Linked DNA regions of Homo sapiens: regions 1, 2, 3 and 5 are each linked to region 4. The links are contacts of gene promoters, found by promoter capture Hi-C in blood cells and fetal thymus (Javierre and others, 2016). All regions are on one chromosome and are shown on one strand. The core of a region is centred on a gene start or on the middle of the fragment in contact, and the rest is flanking DNA. Distances in the headings are between cores, read along the strand shown.

What was found. Contacts are between HindIII fragments. The CHiCAGO score rates a contact against its expected background, and 5 or more counts as called.
Region 1: a fragment that was not itself captured here is called in contact with the fragment with the promoter of SBF2 in region 4 in 1 of 17 cell types (activated CD4 T cells); the score reaches 5.6 in activated CD4 T cells.
Region 2: a contact is called between a fragment that was not itself captured here and the fragment with the promoter of SBF2 in region 4, in 2 of 17 cell types (M2 macrophages and total B cells). The highest score is 6.8, in M2 macrophages.
Region 3: a contact is called between a fragment that was not itself captured here and the fragment with the promoter of SBF2 in region 4, in 1 of 17 cell types (activated CD4 T cells). The highest score is 5.0, in activated CD4 T cells.
Region 5: the fragment with the promoter of TMEM41B here is called in contact with the fragment with the promoter of SBF2 in region 4 in 4 of 17 cell types (activated CD4 T cells, neutrophils, non-activated CD4 T cells and 1 more); the score reaches 8.2 in activated CD4 T cells.

Annotation. Positions count from the first base shown.
Region 1 is chr11:9,617,576-9,620,316 of GRCh38, reverse strand. No RefSeq gene overlaps it. Among named protein-coding and RNA genes, the nearest start is that of SWAP70, 45 kb to the left of the region's middle. The HindIII fragment of the contact is 2,051 bases long and covers 460-2,510 here.
Region 2 is chr11:9,691,473-9,694,172 of GRCh38, reverse strand. It overlaps SWAP70 (switching B cell complex subunit SWAP70), which reads right to left. Exons shown (of 12, transcript NM_015055.4): 2 at 1-27. Among named protein-coding and RNA genes, the nearest start is that of SWAP70, 29 kb to the right of the region's middle. The HindIII fragment of the contact is 458 bases long and covers 1,205-1,662 here.
Region 3 is chr11:9,673,739-9,676,639 of GRCh38, reverse strand. The region is part of intron 1 of SWAP70 (switching B cell complex subunit SWAP70); the gene reads right to left. Among named protein-coding and RNA genes, the nearest start is that of SWAP70, 11 kb to the right of the region's middle. RefSeq lists an enhancer at 300-834. The HindIII fragment of the contact is 4,593 bases long and covers 1-2,901 here.
Region 4 is chr11:10,292,725-10,295,636 of GRCh38, reverse strand. It overlaps SBF2 (SET binding factor 2), which reads left to right and starts at 1,418. Exons shown (of 40, transcript NM_030962.4): 1 at 1,418-1,622. The coding sequence starts at 1,568. RefSeq lists silencers at 1,281-1,330, 1,451-1,730, 1,761-1,840, 1,881-2,020. The HindIII fragment of the contact is 10,661 bases long and covers 1-2,912 here.
Region 5 is chr11:9,313,091-9,315,977 of GRCh38, reverse strand. It overlaps TMEM41B (transmembrane protein 41B), which reads left to right and starts at 1,385. Exons shown (of 7, transcript NM_015012.4): 1 at 1,385-1,657. The coding sequence starts at 1,537. RefSeq lists a silencer at 1,046-1,395 and enhancers at 1,161-1,676, 1,677-2,194. The HindIII fragment of the contact is 4,694 bases long and covers 62-2,887 here.

The DNA.
Region 1 (2,741 bases), core at 236-2,735, 680 kb after region 4:
AGGAAGCCTAACTCCTGGGTCACCCTGGGTCTAAATCTGGATCTGTGCCTGCCCTGAAGGCCTAACTCAATGTGCTCAGCTGCAGGTACACTCACACCCTGAGGGTAGTAAGGAATAACACTGCCCCACTCTTTGTGTTTCCAGATGCCTCTGAGACCCAGGGCCCAGAGAACTTCTGTGCATAGACCCTGCAGGCAGATTCCCCTTCTGGGGCTCTACTAACTCTGGTACCCATATATTTCAGTCCTTTCAGGGACTTGCATGTTTGAAAAACCTGCTGGTTAACCTGGATGAATCTCTATTTGGTGTAACTGGTAGCTCTTCCCCACATTCCTTCCACCCACCAGCATGTCCCACCCCAGGAATTGACTGGCCTCAGAGAGTTCACAGGGGATGAGGAAGGGAAGGTTGAGCATGGTCTCAGTTGCACAGCTGCCCCACACAGCTGCTTGGAAAGCTTTGGTCTTCTGATCCCGCTTTTGTGCCCTTCTTGACCCGAGGCAGGTCCAGAGCCCCTGGGCAATAAAAGGACAGTATTTACTGGAGGAGCACCAGCCAGTTCACTTCATTCATCCCACCTTGAGATATTTGGCTGCTCCTGCAACATATTGGTAGCTCCGTGAGAGTGAGACAAATGTCCTGCTCAAAGATTATAACACTTGTGTGCTTCGCCTTTTTTTTTTTTTTTTTGTCTCGCTCTGTCGCCCAGGCTGGAGTGCAGTAGCGTGATCTCAGCTCACTGCAGCCTCCACCTCCTGAGTTCAAGCAATTCTTCTGCCTCAGCCTTCTGAGTAGCTGGGATTACAGTTGCACGCCACCATGCCTGGCTAATTTTTGTATTTTAGTAGATATGGGGTTTCATCATGTTGGCCAGGCTGGTCTCAAACTCCTAACCTCAGGTGATCCACCTGTGTCAGCCTCCCAAAGTGCTGAGATTACAGGTGTGAGCCACTGCACCTGGCTGGGTGCTTCATCTTTTGAGTTAAAGGTCTGTCTGGACATAGTACTGATATTCCCAGTGTCTTCCATGCTGAAAGTGCAGAGAAGGCATTTGATGAATGATTAACTGAATGAATGAATGAACAAATGACTACATGGTTTCTCTAACTTCCTGTTTTTTAAGACTGTCACTGCAGTGTGTTTTAAAATATGCTTTCATTCCCTGCCTTGGTCCAGGCCCTTGCAATTTTTTGCCTGTGCCCTTCACCCAGTCCAGAAGAAGTCTCAGCAAAATCTTAGGAAGGTAATGAATGAGACAAGGGGCTAGCGGAGAGAAGAGCATTGTAAGCAGAGGAAAGAGGCAGGAGTGTGTCTGGCATGGTTGAGGAACAACAAGGAAAGCTATGTTGCTGGGGCCAATTGAGTGATGGAGAGAACAGTAGGATGTAGGGTCATAGGTAGAGGCTCTGGGTCAGATTGGGAAGGCCATTATAAGATCTTTGTCTTTTTTTTTTTTTTTTTTTTTTTTGAGACAGAGTCTCACTCTTTCACCAGGCTGGAGTGCAGTGGTGCAATCTCGGCTCACTGCAACCTCCACCTCCCAGGTTCAAGCAATTCCCCTGCCTCAGCCTCCCAAGTAGCTGGGACTACAGGTGCGCACCACCACACCTGGCTAATTTTTTGTATTTTAGTAGAGACAGAGTTTCACCATGTTGGCCAGGATGTTCTCGATCTCCTGACCTCATGATCCACCCACTTGGCCTCCCAAAGTGCTGGGATTACAGGCATGAGCCACTGTGCCCAGCCAGGACTTTGTCTTTTACTCTGAAACGGCAAGCTGTTTGGAGGGTTTTGAGCAGAGGAGGGACGTGATCTGACAGGTTTTTTTAAAATCCCTCTGTTGAGAACAGAGTGGTCGGGGATGGGGAAGGCCAGTTGCAGAAGCAGAGAAATTGTTAGGAGTAAGCCAGGCAAGAAACAACCAATGGCAGCTCTGATCTGGATGGTAGCAATGAAGGTGGTAAGAAGCGTTTGGATTCTGAATATATTTTCAAGGCAGAGCCAAGAGAACCTCCTAACCAATTAAATGTGGGAGATAAGAGAAAAAGTAAAGTCACTCCAGGATTTTGTCTGAGCAATGAAAGAATGGTGACATCATTAACTGAGATGGGCGAGGCTACGGGTGGAATTGTTTAGGGGAGTTAAGATCAGATGTTGTTTTGGATGTTTTGAGCTTGAGTTGTCTTTTAGACATCCAAGTAGTGATGTCAAGTAGACAGCCGGATAAATGATTGGGAGAGAAGTCTGGGCTGGATCTCATGCCATTTCATGCTTTAAATATATCCTCACTCATGTCTCCAAAATCAGCTCTGACTTCTCCCGTAAACTTCAAGTTCTTATATTTCACTGCCTACTTGACTTATTCGCTTAGCTTTCTAACAGGCATCTCAAATTTAATATGTTCAAAACTAAATTCCTAATTCCCCATCTCCCTACACAGAACACAAGCAAATGAACAAACAACAACAAAACTCAGAAAACACAATAGCAGTTCCATTCTTCCTAAAGCTTGATGTCATCTTTGACTCTTCCCTTTCTGACTTCTAAACCATCAACAAATCCTATTAAAACCGTCCCCAGGGCGCTGTGGCTCACGTCTGTAATCCCAGCACTTTAGGAGGCTGAGGTGGGTGGATCACCAGCGGTCAGGAGTTCGAGACCAACCTGGCCAACATGGTGAAACCCCGTCTACTAAAAAGACAAAAATTAGGGCCACGCATGGTGGCTCACACCTGTAATCC
Region 2 (2,700 bases), core at 184-2,683, 600 kb after region 4:
CACCGTGCACAGGTTATGGGAAAGGACCTGCAAGGGAAAAGAAAATCGTTTAAAGACTCCCACTAACCAGCACATGACACCTTCACCATGAGTACAACATGCTGCTCCCTCTCCTGGGTAGAGAAAGATGGAAAATAAACTAGCAAAAACAGGGTGAGGACTGCTCAGCTGCAAGCCCCTACTTGTAACCTGTTATTCTTTCTCATTCCTTCCCAGGTTTGGTTCACTTAGAACTAGTCTCTATTACATGCCTACTATGAGCCAGGCTCCATGCAAGATCTGTGAATATAATACTCCTGTGGTCTTTTACTAATTTGTCCACATCAGAAAGAAAAGTGGGGTGGGGGGGGAAGTCTAAGAGAATGTGTTCAAAATTAAACTTTTCACCAAGTAGAGCAGAGTCAGCCAATTAGAGCTGTTCAGAGAAAGAACCTGGTATTATTGGGAGGCTGCAGCCAGGGGTTCTGGACAAGGAGGCTGACCTGGGCAAGTCACAACCTCTCCAGGCTTTAGTTTTCTCATTTATTCAATAGAAAGGGCCAAATTAATATACCAAATATTAATTAGGAATCTCTAAGTATCTAAACATTTCTAAAATTCTATGACTAGGCTAAATTTCAGCATGAGTATAAAAGAATATAAATATAAAAAGAGAAAGAAATCAAGGGCCTGGATTAGATTCAGGAAAAAATTAAATAGCAAAAATAGGAGTCGCCAACATGGTTAAAAATATTTTACAGAAAACCTGCATTCCATAGCATAAATACATATAAAGGGCTACTGGTCTTGCAATAACCTAAGTTCACACTTCAAAGTCCAGGTACAGTAGTTAAATGAGCAGTGTGGGCTACCTTAGTATTAATCTTGTTTTACATTAAATGAAAATTTCAAGATAGAACTTAAATCCCTTCCATTTCATTTGTGCTTTCTGAACAGGTCAAATTACATAGCTAAGGCTGTATTTTCTTCAACAGAGAATCTTCCTAGTTGAACCCCAGGTAAAAACGTTCCTTATTTTTCTCAGCCCTAAACATTTAACCTTAAGGAGCCACATTCATCTCAATAAATACTTTCATTTGCATTAAGCGAGTCCCTTTTTCTGCATACACATATTTCAGTTAGGAGTTTTTTTAAGATTAAACATTTTTAATCTATAAAATAATTTGCATATCTTCTTTCTAAATTTGTTTTGTTTCTCAAAGCTTCATTTATGTGGAGATCCTTTTCTACATGCTCTACTGGTTTTAAGGAAGTAAGTTAAGGAAGTAAATTCACAAATGGTTATAAATGCAGTAATGAAGACTACAAAGCAGGCTGTGTTTCTCAAGCAAACCCTGTGTTTGCCAGTAAAGCACATGAAAAGAGTACGGTGGAGCTTTTATTGGAGAATCCTGCACCACAATCAGCAAAATTTTAAAAAGATATTTAATTTATATTAGCCTAGTAAATCCTATATACTAAAGATCAATTTCAAGAATATAAAGAGCTTAATAACTGTAAAATGCTATGGAAATACAAGTATTAAAGAAATGCACACTTCTCAGATCAGGTTCAAATGTCATTCAAATTTTAAAATCATTTGGAACTTTACCCAAGTTAACAATTCCCAACTACTGGTTAAATTAAGGTATATCCATAAAACATAAAAACCATGAGAAAGCTTGCTATGTACGGATATGAAAAGATCTCCAACATAAATTAAGTGAAAAAAACAAGGTACCTAAGAATATGTATGCCATCTTTTGTATAAAAAAGAAAAGGGAGGAAGAAAAGAAATTCTGGAGGGATATATAAGAAACTAGTAACTGTGAAAGGAAGACAAGTTTGATGAGACCAAGGTTAGAAAAAGACTTCACTGTAGCTCTTCTTTGTATTAAGTTTTTTTAAAAAAAATTAACCTACTCAAAAATGTAGTACATATTTTTAAAATTAAATATATATATATATATATATATTTTAAGTGGCCAGCCTAAGATCACATAGATCAATCTATTTATCTTCATAGCCTATACTTTTTCTTCTACATTAACCTGCTGACTAGAAATGAGGTGTAAAAGGAAGACATATTCCACAGCAATGTACCATGACTAATGGATGAGTGAGCTGTAAGGGCAATAAATGAGTTCAGAAAAGGAGAAATAGTATGTGTTACAGTGACTTCACAGAGGAAGTAAAATGTAACTTATGGCTTACAGGATAGGTAAGGATAGCTTTAGGATAGGAATAGAGGCAAATACAAAAATTTCCAGATAGGGGAATAACATGATAAAAGTAGCTGATTAATCCAAAGCCTTCAGGAAACAAAAAACACCATCTCTCCCATACCCACCCTGTTCTCTACCTTAGGGTTTCACAGATCCTCTAACTAAAGCCCTGGCAGGGGCCTTGGATGTCATATTGTCATCCTCATCTTATAAATGGTGACTACAGACTCACAGATATTAAATTTGTTTTTCTTGACTAAAGTTACTGAGAAGAACTGAGACTAGAACTCGGGTTTTGTAATCTCTGGTCCAGCACTCTCCAGTAATAAGAAACATTATGTCTTCAGTTGTCTAAAGTCAACAATGCTCTTTGTACATATAGATGCTTAGTTTGATTAAGTGATCCCACTGCAGAAGATATAGATTTGAACTCAAGATTTCAGCCTTCGACAATTAAACAGCACTCTTGTTAAACACAGGGATGGCTAAATTCAGT
Region 3 (2,901 bases), core at 308-2,807, 620 kb after region 4:
TACTTAACATGGGCAAACTTTTCTTCCTGTCATTATTCCTTAAACAATGTAACTTAACAACTATTTACACAGCATTTATATTGCATTAGGTATTATAAGTAATCTAGAGATAATTTAAAGTATAAAGAAAGATATACATAGGTTATATGCAAATATTATGCCATTTTATATAAGAGTCTTGAGCATCCTACGATTTTGGTATCTGCAGGGAGTCCTGGAACCAATCCCCCAAGGATACCAAGGGACAAACTGTACAAACAAAAGAAGAGCACCAAAACCAAACCAAGGGGGAAAAATGGTGGAAAAAATGTCTAACGTTGAATTCAACTACATTTACTCAGCTACCTATGTGCACCTAGCACCTTCCTATAAAGAAAACCCCTTTCCATCTCTCTCAATACAGTTTTCAGTCTACCATCAGTTAACACAGAATATACTAAAATTGCAATCAAAACAGATAATACAGTCTTAAACTATACGGTTTGTTCTAAGAAAGGACTATTCATGAATACAAGTTTAAAAGCAAGTAGAAAATGTGTTTCTGGAAGTCTGTTTCCCCACTATTAGCCTATTGCTATCTACTTCAGCTGCTGAAAAGCAAGTAAATCTTTGCTTAAGAAAAAGCTCAAAACAATCACTTAGTGTTCCTGGTTAGTTCAGCCTGAAAAACCAAGTAACACCAAATCAACATGACAATCAGTTGTATTTAACAATCCAATTGCAAATCAAGTTAACAGAGCTGATGACTTCTATGAACGTGCACAGGATGGGTGCAGAGATAAAGGCCTACGTACTCTCAACTCAGGTGGGGAGCCAGTCAAGTTACAACTGGAGCCAGAGAGACAGAGCTCCCCGGTAGAAGGTGCACAGATTGCCAGGAAGATGCCCAGTGAGATTACAGGGAATGCAGGAGAAGGAAGGAGAAAAAAAATCAAGGTAAGGAAAGGGAAGCAGACAGAAGTGGTTCCCTTTTTGGGGAGAGGGGTGGTGTGCGGAGGAGGGCTTAAAGATTCGAGAAAACCTACTGACCTGCAATGACCTTATTTATGGCTATAAATATATATAATATATATAAAATATAAAACAGTTGTTTTAACAAGAAAACATTACTGTGACTAGACAACCAGCAAACATCTGTTTCTATTGTAGTTTATGTAAGCCATAAGAGGTCTTTCTCCCTTTCTCCCTTTCCCTCCCTCTGTCCCTCCCTCCTCCCTCCTCTCTCTCTCTCTCTCTCTCTCTCTCTCTCTCTCTCTCTCTCTCTCTCTCTCTCTCTCTCTCTCTCTCTCTCTCGCTCCCTCTCTCTCTCTCTCTCTCTCGCTCCCTCTCTGTTTCTTTCTTTCTTTTTCTTTGGATACAGGGTCTCACTCTGTTTCCCAGGCTGGAGTGCAGTGGCACAATCATAGCTCACTCCAGCCTCCATCTCCTGAGTTCAGGCCATCTCCTGTCTCAGCTACAGAAGGAACTTGGACTACAGGCGTGTGCCACCATACCTCTCTAACTTTTTAAATTTCTTGTCTTACTATGTTGCAAAGGCTGGTCTCAAACTCCTGGGTTCAAGTGATCCATTTGCCTCAATCTCCAAAAGTGCTAGTATTACAGGCATGAGCCACTGCACCTGGCCTAGGAGTGGCTTCTATTTTTTAAATTTAAAATTTTTTTTTTTTTTTTGAGACGGAGTCTCGCTCTGTCGCCCAGGCTGGAGGGCAGTGGCATAATCTCCGCTCACTGCAAGCTCTGCCTCCCGGGTTCACACCATTCTCCTGCCTCAGCCTCCCGAGTAGCTGGGACTACAGCCGCCCGCCACCACGCCCAGCTAATTTCTTTTTTTGTATTTTTGGTAGAGAAGGGGTTTCACCGTGTTAGCCAGGATGGTCTCCATCTCCTGACCTCGTGATCCGCCCACCTCGGCCTCCCAAAGTGCTGGGATTACAGGCATGAGCCACCGCACCCAGCCTATTTATTTATTTTTGAGACAAAGTCTTGCTCTGTCACCCAGGCTGCAATACAGTGGCACTATCTCAGCTCACTGAAACCTCCTCCTCCTGAGTAGCTGGGACCACAGGTGCCCACCACCATGTCCAGCTAATTTTTAAATTTTTTGTAGAGATAAAGTCTCACTATATTTTCCAGGCTGTTTTCAAACTCCTGGCTTCAAGCAATCCTCCTGCCTCAGCTTTCCAAAGTTCTGGGATTATAGTCATGAGCCACTGCACCCAGCTTCCCAAGGGTTTTTTTTAAATCTGTGTTCTATAGTTCGATTTTATTGATAAGTTTGACAAAAGTCTGTCTGCAACATGTGATATTATGAGACAGAGATATACATAGATAAATATATATAGGTTTTCATCCATGGTCCCTGGCTCATAACGCCATAGCCCTTGTTATAATGTTGGGGTGCTTTAGGCCTCAGAAGCAGGTCTCAGAAAACAGAATCTCAGCCAGGTGCAGTGGCTCACACCTGTAATCCCAGCACTTTGGGAGGCCGAGGTGGGCAGATCACTTGAGGTCAGGAGTTTGAGACCAGCCTGGCCAACACGGCGAAACTCGGTCTCTACTAAAAAATACAAAAATTAGCCGGGTATGGTGGCATACACCTGTAACCCCAGCTACTTGGGAGGCTGAGGTAGGAGAATCGCTTGAACCCAGGAGGCAGAGGTTGCAGTGAGCCAAGATCATGCCATTGCACTCCAGCCTGGGCGACAGAGCGGGATTCCATCTCAAACAAACAAACAAACAAACAAACAAATAAATCAATGAAAAAAGAAAACAAATCTCTCTCTCTCTCTCTGACCTTCTGCCCTTTTTTCGCCTGCTCCTTTTTCTCCCCAAGGCAGGCCGTAGAAACTAAAAATATAATCTCATCTCCCCCAACCTTTCTATCTTGGAGCTGGCCATAAA
Region 4 (2,912 bases), core at 169-2,668:
TTACAGAGAGGATTGCTGCACGGGGTATGACTGAGGTTTTTTTTTTTTTGGTTTAATTATTTTCAGGATCAAACTATCTTCCCTCCACGTTTGCAAATTCAGCTGATTCAGTTTTACCATTAGCAACTGACATAGAGGTCCTGGAGTTAAAGTATTCCTTCAGTTTCAGTTCTAGTGCAGCCCAACCCTCCCAATTTGTAGATGAAACAAGTGTGGCAGAGAAAGGGGAAATAGTAAATTACAGCAGAGTAAATCTTCAGGAGCTGAGATGTCAACTCTCTCAGTTCAGAGTTGGAGCCATTGCGGCTTCCTGCTGGTCGTTGGGGAAAATCGCACATTTACTCATTTAAAATATTTTGTAGGCACCTACTATATACTAGACGCTTTGCTAAGAGGCCTTGTCTTATGTGTAAATATGAAGGATCAAACCCTCAATTAATAGTGAGCAGTGATAAGCAACCACAAAGACAACTTCTAAACCACGGAGATTTCCAAAACTTTGGTCTACCACTTGTACAAATTCTACTAAAACTTCGTGAGATATTAACAAATGACAAAGTGAGTTCACCTGAATGTCACACCAGCCAAATTCGAAATGGTCAATAGGAGGTTCAACAAAAAAGCAAGCGACTTTGATAATCCCGAGACGGAAGGACGGGACCATCTATTCATTTTTGTGCATGTTTGAGCAGGGAAGTTGGAAGTCCACCTGCTCGGGCTGCGAGAGCCCTGGGACCGCTGCGAGGGAAGCAAGCCGAGGCGTGCGGGGCTCCCCAGGGAGAGGCCAGCCCAGTTCGGGAGGATCCCGGGGATGCCGCGTTCCTCGGTGGAATCTGGCTCTCCCGGGCGCTCCGGGGGAAGCCCAGGCCGACCGCCCCCGGCCCACCCGGCATTGAAACCCGAGGCTCCTTGGAGGATTGCGTAAAAGCCTCTCCCTCCCCCGTCTGCTCGGTGGCATGTTTCTAAAATTCCCATCTACACAACATAAACAGGAAACGTGCAGCAAAAGCCCTGTCGATGCAAATTCCTTGCTTCCAACCGAGGGCGGGAGAATTTCATCTTTGGTGGTGGTGGGGAGCAGAGGAAGCAGCCAGCTTTCCAAGTGACCCCTCAACTCTCCACATCCCTTCTTCCAAATCCAAACAGAATAGAGAAGGCGGAAGGAAGGACCCCCTGCTTTAGGAAAAATAGGGAGGCAGAGGGGGCCGTGAAGCAGCATCCAGGCCTCAAAGTGAACCACCTCCAGGGGCCGCGGTGGCGGCGCGTGGCGGGAACACGCCCGACCGCCCACTCCCCCAGCGCAGCAGTCCGCGAGGCCCGCGGAGGGTGGAGGTGGGCTCGCCGCCCGGGCTTGGGGCAGCCGAGCCAGCGCGGGTGGGGGCGGGGGAGGAGCGGGCACTAGGCGCCGCGCAAGCGCAGAGCGCGCCTCGGTTGTCAAACATGGCTGAAGCGCTGCCGCTGCCGCTACTGCCGCTGCAGGGAAAATGCTGAGCCCTCCCGGGCCGGGTGGGCGGCGGCGGCGAGGGCGGCGACGGGGACCCGCTTCCCGAGCGCGGCGGCGGCGGCCATGGCCCGGCTGGCTGACTACTTCATCGTGGTAGGCTATGACCACGAGAAGCCAGGTAAGGGTGTGGGGCGGCACCGCCCCCGGGCCTCCCCGCCCCCCGGCCGCTGTCCAGTGGGCTCCGCGGGGCCGGGCGTCGGGGACGGGCGTCGGGGAGGGCCAGGCCGAGTCTCGGAGGAGCGGGCGGTCGGCGTCCGGCCTTCTCGGCTGGGCTGAGCCTGGCGGTGGGCGTGGGGGGGCCGGCACGACGGTAGGGGGAGGGAAGACGCCGCGTCTGCCCAGCCCCTGGGCGCACCCGCTGGGCGGGCCGGAGGCGAGTTGGGGTCTCGCGACCCTCCCGCTGGAGGCTGCAGGGTACCCGGGGCAGAGAGAGCCCTGAGATTGGGCCCAGGACCGCAAGGCTGGGAGGGCGGGAGCCAACTGTGCTAAGTTCCTCGGGGATAAACTTCTGCCCTGCATCCTGAGTGAGTAACCAGTGACGCAGGGGGTTGTCCTCTCCGAAAGGAAGTGCTGAGAGTCCAGTGCTAACTCACCCCTGTGCTGTTGGGGGCCTAGTGACCTCCCCAAGGAACGCGTGGTACCAGGGAAGGGGACAGGATTCTTTGCACTTTTACCCCTTTCTAGGAAATGCTCCCTATTCTTTCAGGACAAATGTGACGGTCACTTCACAGTGACATGACTTGTCTTTTAACTAAGGACAGCCAGCTGACCGCTGAAGGTGATCTTGTTTCACTTTAATGTGTTTTCATTGTTCTTTTTATTTGTCACAGAATTTTCGTCGTAAGGAACAATTGGGCAAATGCATTGTATTTTACACTTTAATTGACGGACTTCCACAACTTAAGAGAATTCAGGGTTCATGCACGTTTATTTCTGTATTTGTATTCTCTTGTATTACTATGTAGCTAAGCATAATGTAATAACAAATTGAGCTGGGAAACCACTTCTATTTTAGGGCAATTCTAGTCCCACATTTGCAAGGAATTTGAGATATCAGCTCTACAGCCCCTTCATTTTTCAGAGATGCTGAGATTGTGTTTTCCTGATGGTTACAGCCATTGGTAGCTCAGAATACCATTGTTCTACCCACTCTTGGTCCACTCTCTCTTTCATTATTCCTCTCCTAAGAACTTCCTCTCCTTTAGTGGGAACCTTTCATGTTCTTTTCTCTTTCACCAGTCATGACCTGATTGAGGTCAATTGTTAAAGAGAAAGTTTAAATGTTTAAACTTCTGGATCCAAAATTTTATTTCCTAGTAATTTGGCATAGTCTGATGTTTCTTTTCTATCAAGATTAAGTGTGGGAAATCAGTTTTTTAACCTTTAGTTTTTAGTGACATTGTTCCGC
Region 5 (2,887 bases), core at 136-2,635, 980 kb after region 4:
GTGAGATTCCCATCACTTAAAAAAACAAAAAACAAAAAGACAAAGCCCCTGCCTTAAAGCTTATATTCTAAAGGTGGAGGCAGACAATAAACAAGTAAACAAATAGTTCACAGAATTAATTGCTTTTAATGACTATGAAGGAAATAAAATGGGAGCCAGAAGTAGGCAAAGGATGTGTACATAAAACAGTTCAATTGAATGGGTTTCCCATAATTTACTTAACCATTTTTATTTAGTGTTGGATTTTTATATTGCTTTTAGTTTTTCACTGTTATACTAATACAGAGGAATTATTTATGTTTATTTTCATGGAATAATTTCCTACAAATGTAATTACTGAATAGAAACAATCAGGATTTTTTTTTTTTTTTTTTGGGACGGAGTCTTGCTTTGTGGTCTATGCTGGAGTGCAGCGGTGCAATTTCTCACCGCAACCTCAGCCTCCGGGGTTCAAGCGATTCTCCTGACTCACACTCTCGAGTAGCTGGGATTACAAGCCATCATGTCCAGCTCATTTTTGTATTTTTAGCAGAGACGGGGTCTCATCTCACCATTTTGGCCAGTCTGGCCTCACACTCCTGGTCTCAAATGATCCGCCCGCCTTGGCCTCCCAAAGTGTTGGGATTACAGGCTTGAGCCACCGCGACCGGCCTCTAAGTTGCTTTCAAGAGGTAACCACGGTGAGTAAGCTGAATGTGCTCTGAGGGGTAGAAGCAGAAAAAGTTACCTGTGGAAAAGGCATGTTTCCGCTTAGCTTAGGGATAAGCTAAATGTAGAGCTGACTTGGGTTTAGTAGTAAGGGGCAGCAGCTAATGCAAAACCGTTAGCTTTGGGAACAGGACAACCTGGATTCTAAGCCCATTTTTGCCATCCTGTGATCTTCACAGGTTGTACGTAGCCCTCTCTGAGCCTTAGTTTCCTGAAATTCAGGTAGGTTTTGCTCAACCTTTGTATTTCCCACCATCTTTTAGATCAAGCACTCTCTGGCGCCTCCAAATTGAAGACAGCAGCTGCGGAATTGATGTAATGGGCTGAATCAGCCTCAGCCGCGAAATGCCGACTAATCACAGGCACCTCCGGCGGCCTGGACAAAAGGTTTGAAGTCCCTGGGACCGCACTTCCGGGTAATTAAGGCTACGCTTTAGACGCCAGGGCCAGCGAGTCGCAGCCGGGTGACTCGAGTGCCGCGACTGCGCATGCTCTCGCCCCAGCGCCCGGCGGCCACCTCTTTCCCGCGGGCGGGCCGGGGCGGGGCACTGAAGGGGGCGGTCCAGGACCCTGACTTGTCTCGCGGTTACTGGGCCGGCGCGAGCACGCGAGGCTCGGGGGCGGCACGGGGCGGGGTTTAGCCTGTGGTGGGCGCTGCGGGTGTTTGCAGGAGGTTGCAGTACTCGCTGGGCTGAGGTCGTCTCGGGTGAGGAGGTCGCGCCGGAAGTGGCTCTAGCCGTGGCGCTTCGGCGTAGTAAGGAGCCTGCAACAGAGTTTTGTTGTTTAGGGGGCGCGGCACCGCACCGCTCCCTTCACCTTGCAGCAGCCATGGCGAAAGGCAGAGTCGCCGAACGATCGCAGTTGGGCGCTCACCACACGACCCCCGTGGGGGACGGGGCAGCGGGGACGCGGGGTCTCGCGGCGCCTGGCAGCAGAGACCACCAGAAGGGTGAGTGGGCCCGGGGAGCAGAGCTGGGGGTGGCCCGAGGCTTCTGTGTGTCGGGTGGGGAAAAGGACCCCCGCTATTCTCGGAGAGTCGCGGGGAAAGAGGGGGGCCTGCTGGCGCCGCGGCGGGAGCAGAGACCGTGGGGGAGTTGGGCTTGGGCGCTCGCGCAGCACAAGGCCGGACGCCGAGTAGGTGCGTTGTAAATGCTGTTTGAGTAGAATTCATTTAAAAGAAGGGATGACACTGGCTTGTTGACGCTCAGGTAGATTGTAAGGTTGATGATAACGACGCTAGGCAGAGCTGGAAGGAGCTGTACTGTGGCATTCGCTGCGTTGTTTTTACAGATGAAGAAACTGAGGCCCAGTGTGGGTATATGACTTATAAAGTCATAAAGCCAGATCAGTGAAGTAGTAGTTAGGAGCGAGGACTTAATACTTCCAGGTGGCAGTACACCTGGGCTTGAGTCCCTGCCCTACTGTTTACTTGGAACCTTGGACTTGGTAACTTTCAAAAAAAGCTCAGTGTCTGAACTGTGAAATGGGGATAATAATAATATCTACTTAATAGGTGGTGCGTGGGTTAAACGAAATAATTCACGTAAAAGATTTAGAGCAATGCTTGGATATGAAGTGGGGGCTAAATAAATATTAGCAATTACTTAGTTACAGCTAAGGTCACTCATTCTAAAGTTTATTTCCCCACTACATCATCCTGACATTTCTCACGGCTTTATTTTTGGTTTTTGTTTTCTCTTTATTCCTACTGCCTCTATAATTGCAGAATCTCACGGCTTTAAATATTGTTTTAAGGAAAAAACTGTACGTAGAAACTAAATACTTTGATTCCGTGTTGGCCTGGAATCGTTCTTTAAATGATTTTAAAGCTCATAAACTTAAAGTGATCCTAACAAGTTTGTCTGTAGCTCACATAGGTGTGTTCCACCACCAGTGATGGCTAGGAGAACTTCTAAGAGTATGTAGTAGAAAATGTTAATGTATTTTCAAATAATTTAAAATGTCTCCAACAGTCTAATTTGGCTCTGTCAGCCTTATGTTTTTGGGTATTTTTCCAGCTTATATACACTGGATCCAGGTGACTTCATATAATTTCAAAAACTGAGAAATGAATCGTTGTTAATGTATAAATCAGCTCTGAATAAAAGAAAGATTGTTTTGAAGACTCTACTACTGAGGGTGACAATATTCCAAGGTCTGGGTTTCCTGAAAAAGTGTT